2 separate regions of the Homo sapiens genome follow, and region 1 is linked to region 2. The links are contacts of gene promoters, found by promoter capture Hi-C in human tissues and cell types (Jung and others, 2019). All regions are on one chromosome and are shown on one strand. Each heading gives the region's core, a stretch centred on a gene start or on the middle of the fragment in contact. The rest is flanking DNA. Distances are from core to core; before and after follow the strand shown.

Region 1 (4,907 bases), core at 1,878-4,377, 230 kb before region 2:
AAAAACGTTTTTGCAATAGGATACTTCTTAGTCCAGTTTGACTCCCTTCAACACTCTTGTTTTTGCCTGAAGGTCCCGAGAACTGTCCCATCTCTACTTTCAAGGAAAGAACTTGCAGTTTCTGGCCAGAGTTGACCTCTTTTCCAGAGCTACTGCAGAAAAAAGAGCACCTGCTCTGGCTGCATCCCCATTCACAATTGCTGATTTGTAAATTAAGCAATTCGACTACAGCAATGTGTGTGTTTGTTAGTCATTAAGAACAATACATTTGAGGGGGATGGGTTGAAAATAAGAAAAAACAAAATGATAAAATGTTTGGGTTTTGGGAAAACAGGAAAGAATGACAGATACAATCCAAAGCAGAGCTTGCCTGTCAGCAACAAGGGAGAAACCTGGCAACAGATTACAAAGGTTTCCTTTTCCTCTACTATCTTCTCTTTATTTCAGTGAAAGTTAAAGACACATCATAGGTGGTATAAACAGGGAAATGCTAGATCAAGTTTGGGTACACAAACTGTAATCTAATCTATCTGCATTTCAGAGTAATACCCAGAGGACAGACATCTTCATATAGCTACTGAACATACTCTTTTGTTTGTCCCGTACGCAGCTCAAAATCATCAAATAGTAATGTGCAATTTTACCCATAAATTCAGGATAAACGTAATGAAATTTTTTAAAAATCTAAGTTTTTTTAGAAATAAAAAATAGCCAAGCACAATGGCTCACACCTGTAATCCCAGCATTTTGGGAAGCTTAGGAGGGAGGATCACTTGAAGCCAGGAGTTTGAGGCCAGCCTGGTCAACATAGCAAGACTCTTGTTTCTAAAAATAAAAGAAAGGGGCCGGGCGCGGTGGCTCATGCCTGTAATCCCAGCACTTTGGGAGGCTGAGGCGGGCGGATCACGAGGTCAGGAGATCGAGACCATCCCGGCTAAAACGGTGAAACCCCGTCTCTACTAAAAATACAAAAAATTAGCTGGGCGTAGTGGCGGGCGCCTGTAGTCCCAGCTACTTGGGAGGCTGAGGCAGGAGAATGGCGTGAACCCGGGAGGCGGAGCTTGCAGTGAGCCGAGATCCCGCCACTGCACTCCAGCCTGGGCGACAGAGCGAGACTCCGTCTCAAAAAAAAAAAAAAATAAATAAAAGAAAGGTGCCAGGCATGGTAGCATGCACCTGGATCCCAGCTACTCAGGAGGATGAGGCGGGAGGATTGCTTGAGCCTGGCAGTTCAAGGCTGCAGTGAGCCGTGATCATCACTGCACTCTAGCCTGGACAACAGAGCGAGACCTTGTCTCTAAAAAATTAAAATTAAAAAAAGCTTCATAATTATCATTAGACATAGTTGTGGCCAAAATTGTAGTTAATAAAAAATTCAGGCTAAGAGATACACTATAAAAATATATTTTTAATAGAAATATTCTTTTGCATAAAACTTTTCTTATAAAAATTTTTCAAAAAATACAGATACAATCTAACAAAAATTATGCTAAAATGTCTTTCTCCGATGATTCAGAAGATACCTGAAGATTCTGCCTAGCTTCAATAATTTATTGAAACCATGACATGAGTCTCATAAAATAGCTCAGAAGTAGTTTCCCAGTTTGAGTCATTATTTTATTTCTTACATCACTCTTGTATCTTCTACATCAATAACCACTAGATAACAAATGTTTGCCGCACCTAGGGAATAATATAATCCTTTACTGTGACTTGTCTGTAAACATTTTCTTAACTAAAAATTAATTCCAAATTATCTGAAACAGATGCTATCCAAACAATAACAAGTATATTCCAATGAGATGCAACATAGCCTGGCTACTCTTTTATAGATTCAATCCCATAAACCCAACACCCAACTTAAGTTGTTTTTGTTTTCAATGAAGTAAAATTACCATAGATATGAAAGCTGTATTACCTTCATAATGTTAACTAAATCTGTTTGATAGTAGCGATCCTGATGTGCATTTGCTGCCGCTAGGGTAAGAAGATAATCATTCCTTGCGTGGGTAGCTTTGGAATTACACTCAGATCGCCGGGCTTTTAACTAAAACATAGCAAAATAAAATAATCAGTGCAAACTGATATTGTACTGCAAAACACATAGGAATCCTACTCTTAGTTTGCAATTAATGGCTCCCCAACAAGAATAAAGGTAACCACGTGCGGAAAACATTTATACGTATATAAAAATTATTCATCACTACTAAGGAATGAAACAGTGACTAGAACTGTTATACAGGGCAGGAGCATTTTCAAATATTTGCTTAACATACTTCTAAAGCTTTGTAGATAACTTAAAAATATTTTGCCCATTTATTCAAATGACTAAATAAAGGTTCTGAAATAAGTACCTTATCTTCAAAGGTATGGGTAAAATCTAGTGGAGTTAGAAAACAGTTTTTTAAAAATCAGCACTCCTAATGTGCCAGATGAACTGCATGCTAGTTTGAAGCCTGGCAGCCACAGCCAGGTCTCTAAGCTTACTTAATCAGGCATTCCACAGTGTGAAGTTTCCGAAGGAAAAACTCACTCACATCTGGCCCAGAATATCACTCAGGGGTCTAAATCTAAACGAAATAGATTTTGTAGAGCTTTCCAAAGCCCCCGGATTAAGTCTCTTGGACTAAGAGCTAAAGACAACAGGCTGCCTAAGCAGGTAAGGTCCAGAAACTTATCCCTAATGCAGTCTTGAGAAGCAAGTGTGTCCAAGGTGTTGACAGCTGGGTGCAAAACCCCCATGAACTGGGAGGGAAAGTTCCTCCCTGAGTCAGTGACTTTAAAATGCTTCTCTAAGGTAGAAATAATCCACCTCCACCCTCAAAGATCCAATTCTCTGTTTTACAAGCTAAGAGGTTTCTCAGTTGTGAAATACACTTATTGAAAACTTACCTTTACACTTGCCTTCTGTAAACTGATTCTTGATTGAAAAAGACTAAGTTTAGATCTATAATAAAAATAGAAAAGTATGTTTAATAAAATCATCTAATTATATCACAATAAAATTACTAAATATATTATTAAAATTTAAAAATAATCTTTTTTGAAGATACTGCTCTAAAAAAGAATGAAAAAATGGAAAACCAAGAGTAATGATTATTTTCCTTTATTTTACTACAGGAAGAATTTATTATCATGGTAAAACAGGAAATACTGGGATTAATATAAGACAAATATCCAGAATGACCAAAAAAAAAAAAAAAAAAACTTGACCAAAAAAAAATCAAAATATATTGGTGTCTCCTAATAAACAAGAGCCATCAAATTATAGACTATTCTCAGTACCATACAACTTCATACACTTTAGTTCCTGCAAAGGTTAGAGAGACCCAGGGACAATCAACCTATGGAGGCAAGCGTCAGCAAACTTTCAGGGCTGTGTGTGAAAGACTCTAACAATAGGCTCTATGAAGTCCTTACTTCTATTATTTCCACCATTAAAAGTACTTCTTGTTTGGGTACCTGCCTGTGTGCCTCCTCTGCTCTAAGGGGGTATTCTGAACTTACTGAGAAAGTCCTGGGACTCTGCCCTGTATGATGTAATCTTCTCCCACTCTTGGGTTCTTATTTCCCTTGATCCTTTTTCAGTTTGGGAGAGTAACCATAATCTAACAATAGGTAGTACAAACATGTTGATTTTACCCAAACAGCTGCAGATAACCATATGGAGAAAGTCAACAGACAAATGCTAGGGAACAAGCAACACTCCCAGGACCAGTGATTTTTTTTTTAAAGCTGCAATGTTTGTCCTGACTTCAGTGTCAGGGTGATTTCCATGAGAGAATTCAATACATGTGTTGGCAGCTGTGCCTCATGAAGTAAAGTTGCTGGCCAGTTTGGGACTGGATGATGGAGCAGTTAGTCTTTGCAAAGCCAGTGTGAAGAGGATAGGAAAAGCAGCCTCTTATTTTTCTAACAAGAGAAAACATTCAGGGATGAACACATATGCAGCCCAACTACTTCCCCATTGTTAAAAAAATTGGGTTTAAAAGATTCCTGTTATTTTTTACCTTGTCATAGTCATATTTCATAATTACTTTATTTTATTTATTTATTTAGAGACGGAGTCTCGCTCTGTTGCCCAGGTCGGAGTGCAGTGGCGTGATCTCTGCTCACTGCAACCTCTGCCTCCTGGGTTCATGCCATTCTCCTGCCTCAGCCTCCCGAGTAGCTGGGACTACAGGCGCCTGCCACCACGCCCAGCTAATTTTTTGTATTTTTAGTAGAGACGGGGTTTCACCATGTTAGCCAGGATGGTCTCAATCTCCTGACCTTGTAATCCACCCGCCTCGGCCTCCCAAAGTGCTGGGATTACAGGCGTGAGCCACCGTGCCCGGCCCCAATTATTTTACTTTTATTAATCATATTCCTGTTTATTTTATCTAGAAAAGTAAAGGCCACAAACTCAAATCTCTAAGAAAGCCTTTTCAGAATAAGACTGTGTTTGGGGATATTCCCAGTTCTCCTTTTTTTACAGTCATTACCCAAATAGGCTGAGTTGCATGTAGATCTTCCAATATAAGGTTTTAAATTTCTGGCTTCTGCTTTATTTCCTAATCCTAATATACTTCTTGTGTAGTATTAAGGTAGGTATTAGTGATAGATAGAATAAAATAGTACCTGTTCTCAAACATTTCAATCTAGAAAAAATAAGGCAGGATTTTTACACCCAAACACTACACAAATAATGAACTATACCGCGTGCTACTCTTTACCACCTACCCTTCAAAATTAATGTTCCTTGGGGTTCCAAACTCAACTTCTCATCTATTCTATATACTATGTAACTACCATCTGATAGGCAACTGACCCTCAAAGCGAGATCTTGAGGCCCAAATTCTCATTTAAGTGCCAGATATTTGACTACCTTCCAAACATATTCACCCCAGTGTTTCCCAGGCTCTTCA
Region 2 (4,319 bases), core at 903-3,402:
GGGGGACTCTGTTGGGGGATTTGAAGCCTGCTGGGCTTGATGGCCTCTGAAACCCAGCGATGGGACTGCCTGGGGAGGATGTCAGGAGACGAAACTTCTAGGCCCTCATTGCATGGGATACTAACGCCTTGAGCCCAGACAGCTTGGGATGATGAATAAAACCATGAAAAAAGAATTTAAGGATAGGGTGCAGGGGCTCATGCCTGGAATCCCAGCACTTTGGGAGGCCGAGGCAGGAGGACTGCTTGGACTCAGCAGTTTGAGACCAGCCTGGTCAACACAGGGAGATCCCATCTCTACAAAAAATTTACAAATTAGCCCGGCATGGTGGCATGTGCCTGTATTCCCAGCTACTTGGGAGGCTGAGATGGGAGGATCCCTTGGCCCTGGGACATAGAGACTGTAGTGTGCTGTGATCATGCCACTGCACTACGGCCTGGGTGACAGAGTGAGGCCCTTTCTCAAAAAATTTAAGACAGGCCAGCAAGTGAGAGATTAGTATTACTCCCTTTTGCAAAAGAGGAAACTCAGGCTCAGAGAGGAGTCATAGGACAGGTGAGGTAAGACTGGAATCTAAACCCAAGGCTATGGGGTTCAAGGACTAGGCCCCTTCCTCTGCTCCTCAAGCCTCACTAAGTCACCTGTGTGGTAGCTGAAACGCTGTATGTCTCAGGAATGCAGTTTCCTCAGCTGTAAAGTAAGGGAATTGGGCCAGAGCAGGGGCAGAGCCCTGGGCAGGCCACCAACCAGATTTGCCCGCTGAAGGCTAAGGTCGAGCCTGGGTCCTCAACTTGGCGTCAAAGAAACTTGTTTCTCCTGGGCTAAATGGCAGTGACAGTATAAGGTTTGAAGTTTTGGAAGAGGGGAGAGAAAGAGAGGGTTGGCTGGAGTTCCAGTGCCCAAAGGGTCTTCCCCACACTGGAACCTGAAGGCCTAGGCCCTATAACTCGGGCTATGAGGATACTTAGGTCCCTGGAAGGTGCGTGGCCCAGCTTAGACAATAGGCGCAGGAGGCTAGACAAGGGGCCTTTGTGTCTCCCAAGCAAAGGCCCCAGCAGGACTGCAGAGGCGGCTCAGCCACTATGGGCTGTGTGTCCACTCTGCTACTGCTCCTGGTGGGGCTGCAGCCAGCACCCTTCCTGGCAGCCAGGCCCAGTCAGCTGATATGGAGCCCAAGAGGGCCCAAGGCCCCGAAGGCCCGGGGCAAGTTCCTTGGCTACAGGAAGAGGCCTCCTCTGCACTTGTCCAGCCAGCGGAGCGATTGGCTCCATTTCACAGGAAAGAAGACCCTGCCAGGGAATGGAACTGGGTCAAGGTCTCCCAGAGTCAGTGCTGAAGCCAGACAGGAACCTACACTCCTGATTCCTAGACCAGAAATGAGAGAGAGGCGGGGTGCTCATTCATTCATCCATTCACACCTTCAAGGATTGAGCACCTCCCAGGACCTCTAGGACAGCAGCAGGAAGAAGGCAGACCTGGTTCCTGCCCTCGGGAGCTCACAGTCTCCGAACGGGTCAGACATGCAGCCGGTAGCCCGACCAGGGAAGGCCATTAGAGTGGGGTTGACGACAGAGAAGAGAGGTAAAGCAGCTCAAGATAAGGGGCCAGAGTGGGGAGTTCAGGGAGCTGCTGATAAGATTAAGGCAGGGAAAGTGGGGAGCACGGGAGAGGCGGGATCCTGAGTACCCTGCTTTCCTAACCACGGTAATGGAGAGAGGCACCCCCTTCCCCCACTTTCAAGCAAGGGAGGTACGTCCTTAGCCTGGGGTTCCGAGCAGGTATCTCCCAGTAGGTCCCTTCCTGGCCAGCCGGGCTGGGGCAGGGGCGGGACAGGGGTAGGGTGGCGCGGTGGCTGGGCGCAAAGGTCCCGCAGTGGGCCACGCAGGCACCGGGCTGACCTGGCAAAACTTTGGCGTCTCTGAAAACCTCTGGTAACCAGCTCCCTTCTAGCGTGAGGGAGCCGGGAGGCCTCCTTCTGGCCCGGCAGTGAGAGCGTCGCCGCCCGACCCTCCCGTTGCAGCACCGGTACAGACACGCTGACCCCGCGGCCTTGTCGCTGGGCGGCGTCCCGGAGCGGGTGGCGCGGTGTCTACCCGGGCGGGTTGAGGGCGGTGCCAGGGTCAGTCAAAAGTCCGCCCCGCCCCCTGCCTGGCCCGGCTTCGGGGTTGGGGAACAGCGCAGGGAGGTGGGTAGCCGGGCTCCCAGGCACGTGGGTCTCTGCGGCTGCGGCGGGACCCGGGCACTGGCACCCGGGAGCGGCGGCGACGGCACCCTGAGAGGAGAAGCGCAGCGCAGTGGCGAGAGGTGGGGTGGGGCGTCTGGAGGGAACAAGGCGCTGGGAGAGGCCCGGGGAAGCGGCGGGCCAGACTGGCGCAGGTGCGGACTGGGCGCGGGGCAGGGGAGGGCGCTGTGGAGCGGCTGTCGCCCCGGGGCACAGTTGCGAGCCGGCGTGTAGCGCATAACTGGACGGCTTGAACGCGCCTGTGGGTCCGTGGTTGAACTTTGTCTCCACGGGAGCGTCGGTCTCGGTGAGTGTGGACGGGCGCCCCAGTAGTGAGGCTGTGCGCGTCAGCGTACTGGGGAGGTCTGCGTGTTAGCGGGTGAGTGTGTGCGCCCCTCGGGGCGACTGGCCAAGCCTGCGGAACTTGTCTGTGTGTGCTCCGATGTGAGCGTCCCCGTGGCGTGAGGCGGTGGCCGGTGCCCAGAGACGCGAACCCCTGGAGACCCCCTACCACTGTCCTAACCCCAGGGTCACTCTGGGTGGCCACCTACCATTGGTAATGTTGAGGGGGCAGTTGCAGGGAGTGGGCGGGGGAGGAGGGAGTGGCCAGAAAGGACAGTTAAGCCTCTGTCCCCGGGCTTTTAATCTGGCAAATGGTGCGGTAGAAAGGGTCAGTCAGGAGAAAGGCGATACCCCACCCCCCAACCCGAAGGCTGCCAGTGGCCCTCTTGGGGTCCTCCAGGAGCGCAGCCCAAGGGTTGGGGACTGCTGGAGACCAGAATTGCCAGCTCGGGATTTGTGGGGTCCATGGCTGCTGTTCCTCTCAGCATGGCATCCCCAGCTTCCCAGGACCACAGCCTGATCTGCCTGGTTTGTTTTGGATCTAAGCTGAAATAATTATGAGTTTTGAGGATCTGGGTGGAGACCCAGGCAAGTTTATTACCTGTGGGTGGAAGTGGAAGGAAGAAGATTCTCTGAGCAGACAGGTCCACAAGAGAGCTCTGGAGACTCAGAGATCTATGTTCCAATCCTGTCTTGGCCACTGTGTGGCCTGGGCAAGCCGTCCTTTCTCTGAGCCTCAGTGGCCTCGTCTGTAAGAAGGGACTAATGATAAGGAATTTGAGGGCTGTTGAGGAGCTGATGAGTGTGTCATGTTCAGCACCAGTGTCCCCCCATGGGCAGGCTCACAGCTTGGGGATGGGAAGTCAGTCCCTGGAAGGAGCCTCCCAGAACCAGAATCCCAACTGTGCCCCTCCCTAGGGCACAAGCCTTCCACAGGACCAAGCCTGAACCCTGTAGCCTGGGACTTAAGGTATTTGATAACTGGGGCCTGCCAGCCTTTCCAGCCACCTCTCCCGCCTGACTCTTTACCTTGCAGCAGCTGCCTGGAGTCTCTCATTTCTTGCCCCTGGCCTGTTGCATATTCTACACTCCCTCTCTGATAAGCCCTCCTACTCTCACCTTCCTCAACTGGAGAACTACCCAGACTTGGGACCCAGCTCAGATGTCCTCTCCTCTGGAAAGCCTTCCTTGATCCCTACAGCTGGGTTGGAGCCTCTTCTAGGCCCCTACAGGCCTGGGGCTGACAGCCCTGGTCCCACCTGAACCGTCATGATCTATGTCTGTCTCCTCCTTTCCTCTTCCCAGGTCTAGGGGCTCCTGGAGGGCAGAAACTGGGTCTTATTATTTCTGTGTTGCCAGCACCCTGCACAGGGCTGAGCTGAACTGAGAGAGCAGCAGTGGCGCCCATCCCCTGTCTCTGGCACCAGCTTCTCCAGTAAAGGCCCGGCTGCAGGGGAGCTCCATGTCACTACAAAGAAGGGCAAACCAGAATCTGGTTATCAAAGTGGGTGGCACAGTTTGCCAGAACAGTGTGATCTGGGACACTGTAGGACCTAGAGTGCCCAGGCTAAAGACCTAGAGATTTTATCCTGAAGGCAATAGGGAGCCATGGAAATTTATGAGCAGAGGTGTTTCATGGTCAGAGCGGCATTTCAGAAAGCGCTCTCTGGCTGCAGGATGGAGAATGGATCAAGTATTGCCAAGTGCAGGGAGGTCAGGGCATTTGTGATGTCAACACTAGAACTGTCCCAGGAGT

What was found. The method cuts DNA at HindIII sites, captures the fragments that hold promoters and counts their contacts. A contact is called where the count stands out against the background at its distance.
Region 1: a contact is called between a fragment that was not itself captured here and the fragment with the promoter of P2RY2 in region 2, in 2 of the 25 tissues and cell types used here (dorsolateral prefrontal cortex and mesenchymal stem cells).

The regions. Positions count from the first base shown.
Region 1 is chr11:72,982,170-72,987,076 of GRCh38, forward strand. FCHSD2 (FCH and double SH3 domains 2) reads right to left here. Exons shown (of 20, transcript NM_014824.3): 7 at 2,893-2,947; 8 at 1,919-2,047. Among named protein-coding and RNA genes, the nearest start is that of FCHSD2, 160 kb to the right of the region's middle. RefSeq lists a silencer at 3,542-3,742. The HindIII fragment of the contact is 4,178 bases long and covers 1,039-4,907 here.
Region 2 is chr11:73,216,129-73,220,447 of GRCh38, forward strand. It overlaps P2RY2 (purinergic receptor P2Y2), which reads left to right and starts at 2,153. Exons shown (of 3, transcript NM_002564.4): 1 at 2,153-2,304. It overlaps LOC124902709 (a long non-coding RNA gene), which reads right to left and starts at 2,065. Exons shown (of 3, transcript XR_007062773.1): 1 at 1,899-2,065. RefSeq lists enhancers at 1,987-2,705, 2,706-3,424 and a silencer at 2,064-2,273. The HindIII fragment of the contact is 8,220 bases long and covers 1-4,319 here.